Linked DNA regions of Homo sapiens: region 2 is linked to region 1. Evidence: promoter capture Hi-C in human tissues and cell types (Jung and others, 2019). All regions are on one chromosome and are shown on one strand. The core of a region is centred on a gene start or on the middle of the fragment in contact, and the rest is flanking DNA. Distances in the headings are between cores, read along the strand shown.

What was found. Contacts are between HindIII fragments. The study calls those that stand out against the background at their distance.
Region 2: a contact is called between a fragment that was not itself captured here and the fragment with the promoter of SOST in region 1, in 2 of the 25 tissues and cell types used here (H1 embryonic stem cells and dorsolateral prefrontal cortex).

The regions. Positions count from the first base shown.
Region 1 is chr17:43,754,972-43,760,413 of GRCh38, reverse strand. It overlaps SOST (sclerostin), which reads left to right and starts at 1,623. Exons shown (of 2, transcript NM_025237.3): 1 at 1,623-1,892; 2 at 4,651-5,442. The coding sequence starts at 1,673. The coding sequence ends at 5,072. The HindIII fragment of the contact is 9,966 bases long and covers 1-5,442 here.
Region 2 is chr17:43,383,306-43,388,200 of GRCh38, reverse strand. The region is part of intron 1 of LINC00910 (long intergenic non-protein coding RNA 910); the gene reads left to right. It also overlaps the pseudogene RNU2-4P. Among named protein-coding and RNA genes, the nearest start is that of LINC00910, 3.1 kb to the left of the region's middle. RefSeq lists enhancers at 221-736, 737-1,252. The HindIII fragment of the contact is 7,633 bases long and covers 1-4,895 here.

The DNA of each region.
Region 1 (5,442 bases), core at 374-2,873:
AACAGTCCACATTCCAGAGCAAGGGAAAAGGAGGCTGGAGGGTCATAGACAAGGGGAGGTGGCGCGGAGGGCCAGCTTCTCACAACACTACCGGCTCTGCTGGGAGAGATAGATCACCCCCAACAATGGCCACAGCTGTTTTCATCTGCCCTGAAGGAAACTGACTTAGGAAGCAGGTATCAGAGAGGGCCCTTCCTGAGGGGGCTTCTGTCTGGCTTGTAAAACTGTCAGAGCAGCTGCATTCATGTGTCGGATGATGGATGATGGAAAGGAGGACAGTCGGCTGCAGATGGACACAGCGACTTGCAAGTTGAGGCAGGTGGCAAAGGACTTGCAGAGGCTCTGCAGGTGGGGCATGCTGATTCATTGCCCAGTTAAAATACCAGAGGATCTGGGCAGCCTCTTCACAGGAGCTGCTTGTCCTCAAACAATCTGTCTTCAATGAAAGATTCCTCTGGCCTTCCTTTCTCTTCTTGCACCTCAGGTGTGAATCCTTCTCCCCCACGCCTCTACCTGCCCCCCCGCCCCCCGCCCCGGCCCTGTGTGGCTCATTATATGCAGGGCCAAGGCAGCATTTTCTCTTAGCTTCTTTGTGACCACTTGGTCCTGGGATGGCTTCATGGAACACATCCTGTGGTGTGCACCAATGAAGCTTTCCATACAGGACTCAAAACTGTTTTTGAAAAATGTAACCAGCTGGAAGACAAGAAAATAAAATGTCAGCACTAAAAACGCTGGCTGTGGCTTTTGCTAAGGAAAGGAATTTGGTGTTGTCTTCTCACACACACAGACTGGTTGGGGAAATGACTGTCTTCAGCACATCACCCTGCGAGCCACAGTGAGTGCCCTGGCTCAGAAGTGCCTGTCACAGTGCACAGGATCCCTGAGGAGCATGAGCTGGGATTTCCTCTGTGCTGTCCACCACAGGAGCCTGAGTGACCAGCGCATCCTCGATTTGTAACCAGAATCCTGCCCTCTCTCCCAAGCGGGCACCCTTGCTCTGACCCTCTAGTTCTCTCTCTTGCCTTCCAGAGAATACCAAGAGAGGCTTTCTTGGTTAGGACAATGAATGCTGAGACTTGTGGAGTTGGGACCAATGGGATTTCTTTAAAAGCATCTTTTTGCCTCTGGCTGGGTCTATGGGGGTCAAACAGAAACGCCTTGGGCCATTTGTTGGTGGGGTGACAAATGAACTTGGCCTGAGAAATGGAATAGGCCGGGCTCAGCCCCGCGAAGCACTCAGAACTGCACATTTTCTTTGTTGAGCGGGTCCACAGTTTGTTTTGAGAATGCCCGAGGGCCCAGGGAGACAGACAATTAAAAGCCGGAGCTCATTTTGATATCTGAAAACCACAGCCGCCAGCACGTGGGAGGTGCCGGAGAGCAGGCTTGGGCCTTGCCTCACACGCCCCCTCTCTCTGGGTCACCTGGGAGTGCCAGCAGCAATTTGGAAGTTTGCTGAGCTAGAGGAGAAGTCTTTGGGGAGGGTTTGCTCTGAGCACACCCCTTTCCCTCCCTCCGGGGCTGAGGGAAACATGGGACCAGCCCTGCCCCAGCCTGTCCTCATTGGCTGGCATGAAGCAGAGAGGGGCTTTAAAAAGGCGACCGTGTCTCGGCTGGAGACCAGAGCCTGTGCTACTGGAAGGTGGCGTGCCCTCCTCTGGCTGGTACCATGCAGCTCCCACTGGCCCTGTGTCTCGTCTGCCTGCTGGTACACACAGCCTTCCGTGTAGTGGAGGGCCAGGGGTGGCAGGCGTTCAAGAATGATGCCACGGAAATCATCCCCGAGCTCGGAGAGTACCCCGAGCCTCCACCGGAGCTGGAGAACAACAAGACCATGAACCGGGCGGAGAACGGAGGGCGGCCTCCCCACCACCCCTTTGAGACCAAAGGTATGGGGTGGAGGAGAGAATTCTTAGTAAAAGATCCTGGGGAGGTTTTAGAAACTTCTCTTTGGGAGGCTTGGAAGACTGGGGTAGACCCAGTGAAGATTGCTGGCCTCTGCCAGCACTGGTCGAGGAACAGTCTTGCCTGGAGGTGGGGGAAGAATGGCTCGCTGGTGCAGCCTTCAAATTCAGGTGCAGAGGCATGAGGCAACAGACGCTGGTGAGAGCCCAGGGCAGGGAGGACGCTGGGGTGGTGAGGGTATGGCATCAGGGCATCAGAACAGGCTCAGGGGCTCAGAAAAGAAAAGGTTTCAAAGAATCTCCTCCTGGGAATATAGGAGCCACGTCCAGCTGCTGGTACCACTGGGAAGGGAACAAGGTAAGGGAGCCTCCCATCCACAGAACAGCACCTGTGGGGCACCGGACACTCTATGCTGGTGGTGGCTGTCCCCACCACACAGACCCACATCATGGAATCCCCAGGAGGTGAACCCCCAGCTCGAAGGGGAAGAAACAGGTTCCAGGCACTCAGTAACTTGGTAGTGAGAAGAGCTGAGGTGTGAACCTGGTTTGATCCAACTGCAAGATAGCCCTGGTGTGTGGGGGGGTGTGGGGGACAGATCTCCACAAAGCAGTGGGGAGGAAGGCCAGAGAGGCACCCCTGCAGTGTGCATTGCCCACGGCCTGCCCAGGGAGCTGGCACTTGAAGGAATGGGAGTTTTCGGCACAGTTTTAGCCCCTGACATGGGTGCAGCTGAGTCCAGGCCCTGGAGGGGAGAGCAGCATCCTCTGTGCAGGAGTAGGGACATCTGTCCTCAGCAGCCACCCCAGTCCCAACCTTGCCTCATTCCAGGGGAGGGAGAAGGAAGAGGAACCCTGGGTTCCTGGTCAGGCCTGCACAGAGAAGCCCAGGTGACAGTGTGCATCTGGCTCTATAATTGGCAGGAATCCTGAGGCCATGGGGGCGTCTGAAATGACACTTCAGACTAAGAGCTTCCCTGTCCTCTGGCCATTATCCAGGTGGCAGAGAAGTCCACTGCCCAGGCTCCTGGACCCCAGCCCTCCCCGCCTCACAACCTGTTGGGACTATGGGGTGCTAAAAAGGGCAACTGCATGGGAGGCCAGCCAGGACCCTCCGTCTTCAAAATGGAGGACAAGGGCGCCTCCCCCCACAGCTCCCCTTCTAGGCAAGGTCAGCTGGGCTCCAGCGACTGCCTGAAGGGCTGTAAGGAACCCAAACACAAAATGTCCACCTTGCTGGACTCCCACGAGAGGCCACAGCCCCTGAGGAAGCCACATGCTCAAAACAAAGTCATGATCTGCAGAGGAAGTGCCTGGCCTAGGGGCGCTATTCTCGAAAAGCCGCAAAATGCCCCCTTCCCTGGGCAAATGCCCCCCTGACCACACACACATTCCAGCCCTGCAGAGGTGAGGATGCAAACCAGCCCACAGACCAGAAAGCAGCCCCAGACGATGGCAGTGGCCACATCTCCCCTGCTGTGCTTGCTCTTCAGAGTGGGGGTGGGGGGTGGCCTTCTCTGTCCCCTCTCTGGTTTGGTCTTAAGACTATTTTTCATTCTTTCTTGTCACATTGGAACTATCCCCATGAAACCTTTGGGGGTGGACTGGTACTCACACGACGACCAGCTATTTAAAAAGCTCCCACCCATCTAAGTCCACCATAGGAGACATGGTCAAGGTGTGTGCAGGGGATCAGGCCAGGCCTCGGAGCCCAATCTCTGCCTGCCCAGGGAGTATCACCATGAGGCGCCCATTCAGATAACACAGAACAAGAAATGTGCCCAGCAGAGAGCCAGGTCAATGTTTGTGGCAGCTGAACCTGTAGGTTTTGGGTCAGAGCTCAGGGCCCCTATGGTAGGAAAGTAACGACAGTAAAAAGCAGCCCTCAGCTCCATCCCCCAGCCCAGCCTCCCATGGATGCTCGAACGCAGAGCCTCCACTCTTGCCGGAGCCAAAAGGTGCTGGGACCCCAGGGAAGTGGAGTCCGGAGATGCAGCCCAGCCTTTTGGGCAAGTTCTTTTCTCTGGCTGGGCCTCAGTATTCTCATTGATAATGAGGGGGTTGGACACACTGCCTTTGATTCCTTTCAAGTCTAATGAATTCCTGTCCTGATCACCTCCCCTTCAGTCCCTCGCCTCCACAGCAGCTGCCCTGATTTATTACCTTCAATTAACCTCTACTCCTTTCTCCATCCCCTGTCCACCCCTCCCAAGTGGCTGGAAAAGGAATTTGGGAGAAGCCAGAGCCAGGCAGAAGGTGTGCTGAGTACTTACCCTGCCCAGGCCAGGGACCCTGCGGCACAAGTGTGGCTTAAATCATAAGAAGACCCCAGAAGAGAAATGATAATAATAATACATAACAGCCGACGCTTTCAGCTATATGTGCCAAATGGTATTTTCTGCATTGCGTGTGTAATGGATTAACTCGCAATGCTTGGGGCGGCCCATTTTGCAGACAGGAAGAAGAGAGAGGTTAAGGAACTTGCCCAAGATGACACCTGCAGTGAGCGATGGAGCCCTGGTGTTTGAACCCCAGCAGTCATTTGGCTCCGAGGGGACAGGGTGCGCAGGAGAGCTTTCCACCAGCTCTAGAGCATCTGGGACCTTCCTGCAATAGATGTTCAGGGGCAAAAGCCTCTGGAGACAGGCTTGGCAAAAGCAGGGCTGGGGTGGAGAGAGACGGGCCGGTCCAGGGCAGGGGTGGCCAGGCGGGCGGCCACCCTCACGCGCGCCTCTCTCCACAGACGTGTCCGAGTACAGCTGCCGCGAGCTGCACTTCACCCGCTACGTGACCGATGGGCCGTGCCGCAGCGCCAAGCCGGTCACCGAGCTGGTGTGCTCCGGCCAGTGCGGCCCGGCGCGCCTGCTGCCCAACGCCATCGGCCGCGGCAAGTGGTGGCGACCTAGTGGGCCCGACTTCCGCTGCATCCCCGACCGCTACCGCGCGCAGCGCGTGCAGCTGCTGTGTCCCGGTGGTGAGGCGCCGCGCGCGCGCAAGGTGCGCCTGGTGGCCTCGTGCAAGTGCAAGCGCCTCACCCGCTTCCACAACCAGTCGGAGCTCAAGGACTTCGGGACCGAGGCCGCTCGGCCGCAGAAGGGCCGGAAGCCGCGGCCCCGCGCCCGGAGCGCCAAAGCCAACCAGGCCGAGCTGGAGAACGCCTACTAGAGCCCGCCCGCGCCCCTCCCCACCGGCGGGCGCCCCGGCCCTGAACCCGCGCCCCACATTTCTGTCCTCTGCGCGTGGTTTGATTGTTTATATTTCATTGTAAATGCCTGCAACCCAGGGCAGGGGGCTGAGACCTTCCAGGCCCTGAGGAATCCCGGGCGCCGGCAAGGCCCCCCTCAGCCCGCCAGCTGAGGGGTCCCACGGGGCAGGGGAGGGAATTGAGAGTCACAGACACTGAGCCACGCAGCCCCGCCTCTGGGGCCGCCTACCTTTGCTGGTCCCACTTCAGAGGAGGCAGAAATGGAAGCATTTTCACCGCCCTGGGGTTTTAAGGGAGCGGTGTGGGAGTGGGAAAGTCCAGGGACTGGTT
Region 2 (4,895 bases), core at 2,209-4,708, 370 kb after region 1:
AGTGGCGCGATCTCGGTTCACTGCAACCTCCGCCTCCCGGGTTCAAGTGATTCTACTGCCCAGCCTCCCTAGTAGCTGGGATTACAGGCGCGCGACACCACGCCTGACTAATTTTTGTTTTTTTGTTTTTGTTTTTTTTTTAGATGGAGTCTCACTCTGTCGCCCAGGCTGGAGTGTAGTAGCGCAATCTTGGCTCACTGCAACCTCGGACTCCCAGGTTCAAGAGATTCTCCTGCATCAGCCTCCCAAGTAGCTGGGACTACAGGCACGTGCCACCACGCCCGGCTAATTTTTGTATTTTTAATAGAGACGGGGTTTCTCCGTGTTATCCAGAATGGTCTCGATCTCCTGACCTCGTGATCCACCTGCCTCGGCCTCCTAAAGTGCTGGGATTACAGGCGTGAGTCACCGCGCCCGGCACGCCCGGCTAATTTTTTTGTATTTTTAGTAGAGATGGGGTTTCACCGTGTTCCCCAGGCTGGTCTCGAGCTCCTGAGTCGAGACGGGATTTCTCCGTGTTTGCCAGAATGGTCTTGATCTCCTGACCTTGTGATCCACCCGCCTCGGCCTCCCAAAGTGTTAGGATTACTGGCGTGAGCCACTGCGCCCGGCAGATTTTTCTTTTAAAACGTGGAGAATAAGAAATCAGCCCGAGTGTGTAATGGCGTCAATATTGGTGTGGACAAGACAAAGTGAATGAGGCAAGGAGCGAGGCTGGGGCTCTCACCGCGTCTTGAATGTAGATGAGAGTGGGACGGTGATGGCAGGGAGGAAGGCGACGACATCTCTTCTCGTCCTTTTGGCTAAGATCAAGTGTAGTATCTGTTCTTATCAGTTTAATATCTGATACGTCCTCTATCAGAGAACAATTATATTAGATAGATTTTTGGAGCAGGGAGATGAAATAGGAGCTTGCTCTGTCCACTCCACGCGTCGACCTGGTATTGCAGTACCTCCAGGAATGGGGCTCCCTCTCCTGGGATACAACCTGTTTGCAAGGTTAGAAAGAAAAGACTGCGCCGGGTAGTTTAGGATAGTTGGTAGGTTTTCTTACTCCTTTAAGTATCATAAGGTTCATGATTTATGGAGAGTATCCTAGGACCCAAAACAAGAATATTCATTTCCAAGTAGGGAACATGTTCGACTTTACTTGGAGGGCTTTAAATCTCAGCTTGGCTGTGGAGGGGTGATGACCTTTCAAAGGGATGGATTCCAGTGGTGTGTTGCCCAGGCTGGACTTCAACTTACTCTGTTTGTTTGTTTGTTTTTTGTTTTTGAGATGGAGTTTAGCTCTTGGTACCCAGGCTGGAGTGCAACGGCACCATCTCGGCTCACTGCAACCTCTGCCTCCCGAGTTCAGGCAATGCTCCTGCCTCAGCCTCCCGAGTATCTGGGATTACAGGCACCCGCCACCATGCCCAGCTAATTTTTGTATTTTTAGTAGAAACGGGGTTTCACCATGTTGACCAGGCTGGTCTCGAACTCCTGACCTCAGGTGATCCACCTGCCTGGGCCTCCCAGATTGCTGGGATTACAGGTGTGAGCCACTACGCCCAGCTGAACTTCCTCTTCAGCCCATGGAGTAGTTCTACTTTAAGGCAGGCACCAATGTACTGGCTACAAACTTCCTTTTTTCCCCAGGAAAAATCGAGGCACAGGTAGTTTAAGTTACCGAGGAATGCACAGGAGCAGAACTCGAGTCCAAGCATCGTGGCTCCACCCTTCATGCTTGATGCTTTTTTAGGCTCTGTTCTAGGTATGTGTATCCTTTACGGGATCAGCCACCGGCAGTTGCCTTGCAACCATGATGACAAATCTCTCCCAGCTTTTTTGGGTCTCATCCCTGTATCTATAAATTGCATCCCAGCATAAAGATCAGAATGTGTCTTTTGCTGACCCAATCTCTCACCCTTTCCAAACTCCAGAAATCTTGTCTGGCCTTGGCAAAACTACCCGCTGCTTCTTTCTCTAAAGGATATCTTCAGTCCGGGCACTGTGGCTCATGCCTGTAATCCCAGCACTTTGGGAGGCCCAGGTGGGAGGATGGCTTGAGCCCAGGAGGCCACAGTGAGGTGAGATCACGCCATTACACTCCAGCCTAGGCGGCAAAGCCAGAGCCCCATCTCGAAACAAACGAACGAACAAACAAAGCACAAAAGAAACAGCCTAGGCAAGGTAGTGAAGCCCTGTTCAGGGTGACGAATATCTGTACAACAGCTATTTCAGAGGCTGAGGCAGGAGGATCAGTTGAGTCTGGGAGGTGGATGCTCCAGTGAGCCGTGATTGCACCACTGCACTCCAGCCTTGGTGACAGAGCCAGACCCTGTCTCAAATAAATAAAAATTAAAATTAAAGGAAAGAAAGCGTGGAAGCAGAAGTGGGTCCCATTGAACTTCAAGCCTTCAAGCTACAGCTGTGGCTGGACAGGTTGAACTAGCAGGCAGGAGCAGTCACCATCTTGGCAGGGATTAATGGCCCTGAACCATCATCAGGAAGAGGGAGTAGTGCTCTTATGCAGGGAGGGCAGGTGGAATATATGTGAACTCTGGTGATCTGTTTGGGTGCCACGTGTTACTCCCAGGTCCACCTGTGACATGAATGGACAAGTGCAGGAACCCTGACTTGAGAAAGATGTGGCCTTGAGGGGTTTAGACTTTTCAGGAATGAGAGTTTGGGTCACGGTAGCCAGGGAAACCACCAGGATTAACAGAGTTGATAGCTGAGAAGGAGGGGGGATTTGGAGGGGAGAGGACAGGAGGCACTGGTTGAGTACCAGGGGCAGCCTTGTGACCAAATGCACCAAGAGGGGCTGTCGTTTGACTCACTAACTTTCTGTAGCTCTATGCAGTACAAAAGAGCAGGAGATGAAAGAATGGCAAGTAGATTGGGAGCCGGAAAATAACTGGAATGAACCCACACATTCCTGATTGACATTGACAGTAATATACAGGTACAGGCAGGCAGAGGCGTTTTCTCTTCAACTGATTTTGAAATCATTCTCTCTGTTAGAGTACACAGCTATCTGAAGGTACACAGTGACCATCAACATTTACCAAGCTTTGGGCAAATGTTAAGTGTCATTGTTGTTGGTTTAATTTGATATTGTTCTCTATTGAATAATGTGCACAACAAATTTCTGGATTTTTATTAAAAGAGCATCTCCTGTGCTACATGCAAATATACAATCTGAGAAATTCTGACCCTGGCTATTAAAGTATAAAAAGGTTTCCTTGTCTCAGAACAATGTTAGAACAGACATCAACTCACTGCTTCTAGAAGAGCAGCCACTCCTTGATTTCACAAACTCAATAAACAGTCTCAGTTGTTGTTTAGTATCATTAGGAACTATTTTGACAGAGGTTTCTAGATCATGTCACAATGACATCAGATATCAAAGAAATGTGTAACAGGTTTGGTTATATGCAATGGCTACCCTCAACCCCCCAAGTTCCTGTCCAGTCAAATTCCCTCTGACCTGCTGTCTGCATCTGCCTCTCCAGAAACAGGGCAGACACAGGATTGTCAAACGTGCTTGCTTCCATGCTCTCTCCCTAATGGTGACATGGACTCTGTTCTCAATAAGCACCTCCCACCCCGCCCAAAGGTCCCTATCACCTCTCCCTGGCTCTGGGTCCACTTCTCTGTACCTTGGACATGGGCATAACATGTTGCCCATGAGGCACAGGATGAGTAGCAGGGGCAGCCCTGTGACCAGCTGCAGCAAGAGGGAGTGCTGTTTGGCTCACGACCCTTATGCAGCTCTATGCAGTACAAAAGAGCAGGGGAGAGAAGAATGGCAAGTGGAAGGGGAGGCAGAAAATAACCAGAACAAATGCACATATATGATCGTGGCCTTGGGTTTTCATTTCCTTGTGAGGGCTCCCGTGTCATGTAAAACTTACATTGACAGCTTTTATGATAGCTTTCCTCCTGCTAATCTATGTCAGTTTGAGTCTCAGGCCCAGCAAGGACCCTAAGGAGATAAAGTTTTGCCTCCCCTACACAGTCATTGCCCACTCCCACCCTCATCTTGAGTTAACCACTGATCTACTTTATGTCTAGAGTTCCCGTTCCTGGCATTTCATATGAAAGGAATTACACAGTATGTGGTCTTTTGTGTCTGACTGATGTCTTTCTCTGAGCATAATGTTTCTGAGGTTCATCCCCATTGTGACATGTGCCATTATGTTGTACCATTATGTTTTTATTCCTGAATATCACATTTTGTTTATCCGTTCACCCACTGATGGACGTTTGAGTAGTTTTCAGTTCAAAGCTATTCGAATAATTCTGCTCTAAACATTTGCCTCTAAGTCTTTATAAGGACATACGTTGTCATTTCTCTCGGCCTGCCTGCTCATTACACATTGGTGTTCCTGTGATTCTGAAACATGTACTCTTCTCTTACACAAAGTAGTATCTCCGTGTCATCTCTCCCAGTCCATGGCTACTGGGGACCACCTGTATACCTCACCCTGATCATAGAAACAGAAGTCCAGTCTCTCTATGTTTTCAAAGGCCTCCAAGATTTTCAACTCTTTCTCTCTTTCTCTTTCTTTTTCTCTTTTTCTTTTTCTTTCTTTTTTTCTTTCTTTCTCTCTCTCCCTCTCTCTCTCTCTCCCTCTCTCTCTCTCTCTCTCTCTCCCTCTCTCTCTCTTTCTTTTTTTTTTCAAGTCTCGCTCTGTGGCCCGTGGTGGAGGGCAGTGGCATGACCATGGCTCACAACCTCGACCTCCCCAGCTCAAGTGACCCTCCACCTCAGCCTCCTGAGTAGCTGGGACTACAGGAGCATGCCACCATGCCTAGTTTCATATGTGCTTGCTTCCATCCTCTGCCCCTAATGGTGCCACGTACTCTGTTCTCAGTAAGCACCCCTGGCCCATGGGTCTTTAGAC